Regions from separate parts of the Homo sapiens genome. Here region 1 is linked to region 2. The links are contacts of gene promoters, found by promoter capture Hi-C in human tissues and cell types (Jung and others, 2019). All regions are on one chromosome and are shown on one strand. Each heading gives the region's core, a stretch centred on a gene start or on the middle of the fragment in contact. The rest is flanking DNA. Distances are from core to core; before and after follow the strand shown.

Region 1 (2,953 bases), core at 420-2,919, 120 kb after region 2:
GAAGATTACAAAAAGTACAAATGACATTCCTTTGTCCTGTTTTCTTGGTTTCCCAGTGCAATTTTGGATAAAATATTAAAGAGACAATTAATCAGGAGTGCTGAGCACTGTATGAAAATAGAGAGAGATGCCAGGTCAGGCAATACATATGGGTAATTTAGAAAGATCTATATTTTTAAAAGTAGTTAGATGCTTGGGAGTATTTTGTATGTACTGTTTTCTTAGTAGAAATATAGTGCATTAAATCAACAGGATTAGACAAATATGACAGATGGAAAAACACATCTTGGTGAGCAAAGTATGGAGGGATGAAGACATGATAAAGAAGAAAAGACTGCAGAGTGTTGATGTTCTTGTGACAAGAAGAAGGGGGTATGGCCTGGACTGGAGTCGTGGTAGGAATGGTTATGGAAGACAGTAACAACAATAACTAGTGTCATATGAAAAGGGATTGAGTTATGGATATAAGTGGATGCATTAAATCTGCAAGATCTAGAATTTCTTCAGCACTGCACTCCTTTTGTTGTTTTTCATACTGTCACAACTGCATTAATCAACTATTAGTGAATTTTTGACGACTCATTCATGTACCTACGAAGGAACAGGGGTAAGCAGAGCTCATTCTTCGGGTAGTCTTAAGTAGGCAGCCTGCGAGCTCAAATGTTCTAAATTTCCTTCTTTTCACCAAGTAGGTAGGGAGGTCTGAGCTTCCCGGAGATAGGTGGGGTGTGGAGGAGTTCATGGAACATCAAAAATATTGAGATGTTCAAATCAGAATGGATTCAACATCAAAGAGAGATCTTGCACATATTTCAGAAAAGGTGAACAAAGCAATTCCACATAAAATTGCTTGTTTTGTGGCTGTTAATGAGAAAATTCCCAGAAACATACCTTTTACTGTTTATGTCTCAGACCTTGTAAATCATGAAATGCAATTTCAGATTGTAGTGTAAGACCTATAGAGAAACGTGGGTATTGCTGTTAGCTGTAAATACAGTTCTTTATTATGATTGCAGCTTGTTCTCCCTAAAATAAAATTCAGCATGTGCTGAATTTAAGTTTAGCTTGGCTAACTTTTCTGCCAGATAGAATATAAGTACACTGCATATAATACTGTGTTAGCTTTTTTTTTTTCAACATGAACTCAAATTTTGAATGTTCTTATCAGTTTATTATTAAACCTTCATGCAAAAACAAAATGGGAAAATGTAAGGGCATAATCTGTGGCATCAGATAGAACTGTTTAGATCTTGATTATGCCACTTACTTGATTGCTAATCCTTACTTTCCTTATCTATAAAAATTGGATGATAGATATGCTTACCTCATATGGTAGCTCTGAGGTATAAAGGAGACAATGAATGTAGACTTTGTTGGGATACTTACGTATCCTCAGTAAATAATACCCATTTTCCCCACCCAAGTTCTGAACCAATTTAGAAACAGACAAGAGTAACGCAGGCAGGAGACCATTATCATTGATAAAGCTGACACTGGAGAACTTAGGCTTCCTGACGCTGAATACCAGAAATAGACAGGCTCACCAACTGGTATCAGGTAGTCCTGGACAATGGGTCGTTCCACCGGGAAAAGGTCTTTGCCACTATGCTTACAGCTTGCCTAAAATCATGCTCCCTGTGAGAGTTGCTACCAAAAGAGAAAGAGGCTGGAATACAAATACCCAGATTCTCTCAACTTATCCTTGCCAGGGGAGGATAAATGAGGAGGTGGAAGTATCCAGGAATGTTACAGCTCATGCAGCTCTCTCTCATGGGAGGAAACAGCAGGAGTGGAGAATGAGTATTCCCTCCCACAGAATGATTAGCACAGTGCCTGGCACATGCTAATTTATTATTTGTCATCTATGCCTATTATATTTACTGGTTCTTAAGGAAAAGTGAAAATAAATACAAATTATACTTTGAACATATGTGAGAGTGGTAGGTGGCAAGTTTTAGAGAGATTGATAAAACCTGAATAGTTAAGGTCCTTATATGTCATAATGTGCATTTTCATTTTGTTTCGTAGATAATGGATAACCAAAAATAATCTTAAATCAGGGAGAAACCCTCTATTAAGTCTGTTCTTACACTGTTATAAAGAACTACCTGAGACTGGCTAATTTATGAAGAAAAGAGATTTAATATACTCATAGTTCTGCAGGCTGTATAGGCAGCATGGCTGCGGGGCCTCAGGAAACTTAAAATTATGGCGGAAGATGAAGCAGAACCAAGCATATATTCATCATGGCGGAGCAGGAGATGGAGAGAGAGCAAAGGGGGAAGTGCTACACACTTTCAAACAACCAGATCTTTTGAGAACTCTATCATGAGACAGTACTAGGGGGATGGTGCCAAACCATCAGAAACCACCCCTATGATCCAATCACCTCCCACCAGGCCCTACCTCCAACACATAGGGTCACAATTCAACATGAGATTTGGATGGGGACACAGAGCCAAACCATATCAAACTTTCAAGTTTGCACTTTAGAATATGAACTCTTTCTTAGACTGTTTCATGTTGCTATAAAAGAATACCTGAGTCTGGGTAATTTGTAAAAGTAAGAGGTTTATCTGGCTCATGGCTCTGCAGGCTGTATGACCATGACACCAGCGTCTGCTTCTGGTGAGGGCTTCATGGAGCTTCCACTCATGGTGGAAGGCAGAGGAGAGCAGGCATCACATGGTAAAGGGAAAGAACAGAGAGAGAGAATGAGAGAGAGAGGAAGAGGGGTGGGGAGGGAGGTGTCAGACTCTTTAACAGATCTAACAGGAACTAAGAGTGAGAACTCACTCAATCCCGCAAGAATGGCACCAAGCCATTTGTGAGGGATTCATCCTCATGACCCCAACACCTCTCTCTAGGCCCCACCTCCAACATTGGGGATCAAATTTCAGTATGAGATTTGGAGGGGACAAATATTCAAACTATATCAAACTCTAACTGCAGT
Region 2 (2,862 bases), core at 189-2,688:
CATGACAACTTTTTAACCAAGACTTTTCTTCTGTTACTAAGTGGAACGTTTTCTTCTCTAAGTAGCTTTTCTCCCATGCAAGCAGCGTTCAAATCTCCAGGGGAAAGGAGGGGTGGGGAGGGGGTGGGAGACTATCTGGCACAAACTGGACAGAGCCGAGCCAGTCTAGAACCCGACGGAAGTTACTGAATCCAGCGGCCCCAGAGGCCCACATCTCTTCTTAGTGCGCCCGAGGTTCTAGCCTCACTGTTTTGGTTACAGTGTTGAAGGAAGGGTTTTAAACTTGGCAAAGTACCGTGCAACATCTGTAACCACATTTGCCTTCTGGGGATCGGAAGATGAATCCCACATTCCTGGCTTTGAAGCTTTTTGAAACTGCAGCTAGGAAGAACCGAGGGAGGGAGGGAGTTGAGCAGAGTTTATTGGCTGTCTCTCCAGCAGAAAATTCCTCTTGGAAGAGATGGATATTTTGAGGGTGGGGGAAATTCGCCTATCTATCTCCTTACTCTCTACAAGCTCAGCTAGGAAGGTAAGCCCCGTGGCCCCGCGGCCAGATCGATTTACAAGTCAGAGTCGCACACCCTGAAGGAGTTCACAACACACACACACACACACACGCACTCACACACACCCCAATACAAACCTGAGACCCCCGCTCCACGCCTCTGCCCCCCCACCCCCCATATCCCACCAGCAGTTCAGGCCCAAAGCAAGACAGTTTTGTTCCGCGGCTGCTTCCCCCACGGAGAGGGGATCAAGCTTGGGGGAGAAAGGAATGAAAGCGAGGGGGAGGCACCGCAGACGCCCACCCTGCCACCCCCGATCCCTGCCTCTTCTCCCGCTAGGCTACCTCCTCCCTCAGTCCTCCCGGCTCCAGCAGGCGCGGCCGGCGACCTGCGCTCACCTCGGGTCCCGCCGCGGCCGGGGGCTGAGCCGGGGGAGGCGGAGTGCGAGGCAGCCGGGCGCTGCAGGTCGGCGCGGCGCGGGGCGGCGCGGGGCGGGGCGGGGCGGTGCAGCCGGCGAGGGAGCCCGGAACTCTGCGGGGCCGGGAGCCGGGGGCCGAGGGCCGGCCCAGAGCGGCGGCGGCTGCGGTGGCTGCAGCGGAGCGGTGCGTGGGGCCGGGAGCTTCCCGGCCCTGGGGCCGGCGCGGCTGGCCGAGGAGCAGGCTGGCAGCGGCAGCGGCGGCAGCGGCAGCCACCCGGGGGAAAGAGCCGGGGGAGGGCGGGGAGGCGGGGTGAAGAGGAGGAGGAAGGGGAGGAGGGCGGGCAGAATAAACTTCCCGAGGCGCAGAGGCTCGGGCTGGGAGCACGACCGCGGGCGGGGCGGGCGGACCAGCTGGGCTTGCCCCCGGGGGCGGCGGGGGAGACCGTCACAGAGAGTAGAAAAGTTCCCCCTGCGCCGAGGGGGAGGCTGCGGCGGCGGCGGCGGCTGCAAAGAGCAGGAGCCGGAGCGGGAGGAGCGGGAGGAGGAGGAGGAGGAAGTGGCTGCGGAGCGCTCGGCCAATGAGTGTCTGGAGCTGTGATTAACCAGGCAGCAACACATCATTTCCTCCCGGCGCGGATCCAGGGAGCCGGGAGGGGAGAGAGGAGGCGGCGGGGCGGGGCCGTCCCCGCGCCCCCTGCAGGCGCCCGGCCGAGGGCGAGCCCGCCGAGCCCCGCCGAGCCTGACCGCGCCGCCCCCGGCGCGCCTGGCGCTGTCTGGCCGGTCGCTTGGCCCGGGTGGAAGCTATGAGCGCGCCGCCAGCGGGGCTCCTCGGAGGCGGCGGGGCAGGCCCGAGCTGGGCTCCTGTGGCCGGGGTGGGAGGAGAAGAGGCCGCGCGGCACGGGTGAGTGCCCAGGTAGGCGCGGGCGGGGCCGTCTGGACAGCTCCCGAGGGCGCGCGGGGCAGGCGGGCGGACGGGCGGGCATCCCGGGCCCGGCGACTGCGGGCGGCCACCTACTCGAGCCCTGCATGTCAGACTTGGGCTGGATTCTCAGAGAGAAGCCTTAGCATTCTCATCCAGGCCATCTCTGACCTGCCTTCAGATCCCCTTCCACTTTGCTCATTTCCTTGCAAGGTCTAGGGTTATGACAGAGCTTGCCATGTTCGCCTTTGGCTTCCTTAGTAACAGAAATAAGCATGGAGGGGCTTCTGCAGTGATCTAGCCCTGTCCTAGGCGCCATGGGAGCTTACAGTGGAAATGCAGGAACATTCTCCGCTGCAGAGAGTCTGATAACCTCGGTCCTTAGATACACAAAAACACCCCAGTGTGCTAATATTACCCAGAGCATCAAAAAGGCATGCAAGGATCAAATTTTGCATGGTTCCTGCTGAGTGTAAAGGAAAGCACTAAGCCATTTTCTCTGCCCTCTAGAAGCTTATAATGTACAGTCCTATCACAAAGCAGAATAAAAACATGAAACCTATAAATGGGAATGCCATAAAGTATTTTTATCTCTACAGGTTCATTCATGCAGAGGGCATTTATTGGGTGACTGCAGTACTGCAAAAGGTTGCAAAGGAAATGGAAGATCTGGTCCCTGCAGGTTGGGAGTTTACAATCTAATTAGAAATACAAGGCATATATACGTGAAAAAACTAGAATCCCCAGCTGTAAGCAAAAGGATGGAGTAGGTGGGAGCATTTTTTTCATAAAGAGAGCTTTGTACCTGTATGATTGGTGAGGAGCAGGAGAGGCAAGTTCAGTACCAATCAAGGCAAGAGCACCTATATGTATCCCTGCTCTATAGAATGATGTAACAGGGCCCTCATTGTCACTTGGCTGAAGTGTCAGCTCTGCCACTTACAAACTGTTTTGAACTGGGGCACATTTTTAACCTAAGAAGGGAATACAGGTTGTCTCGTGAGGTGGTTGTGCAGTTC

The links. The method cuts DNA at HindIII sites, captures the fragments that hold promoters and counts their contacts. A contact is called where the count stands out against the background at its distance.
Region 1: a contact is called between a fragment that was not itself captured here and the fragment with the promoter of ACVR1 in region 2, in 2 of the 25 tissues and cell types used here (dorsolateral prefrontal cortex and neural progenitor cells).

Annotation. Positions count from the first base shown.
Region 1 is chr2:157,991,579-157,994,531 of GRCh38, forward strand. No RefSeq gene overlaps it. Among named protein-coding and RNA genes, the nearest start is that of UPP2, 110 kb to the right of the region's middle. The HindIII fragment of the contact is 8,976 bases long and covers 1-2,953 here.
Region 2 is chr2:157,874,892-157,877,753 of GRCh38, forward strand. ACVR1 (activin A receptor type 1) reads right to left here and starts at 1,439. Exons shown (of 11, transcript NM_001111067.4): 1 at 905-1,439. It overlaps LOC105373714 (a long non-coding RNA gene), which reads left to right and starts at 1,693. Exons shown (of 2, transcript XR_923518.3): 1 at 1,693-1,825. RefSeq lists silencers at 911-1,120, 1,211-1,260, 1,271-1,490, 1,551-1,790, 1,811-2,000 and an enhancer at 1,386-1,680. The HindIII fragment of the contact is 2,058 bases long and covers 563-2,620 here.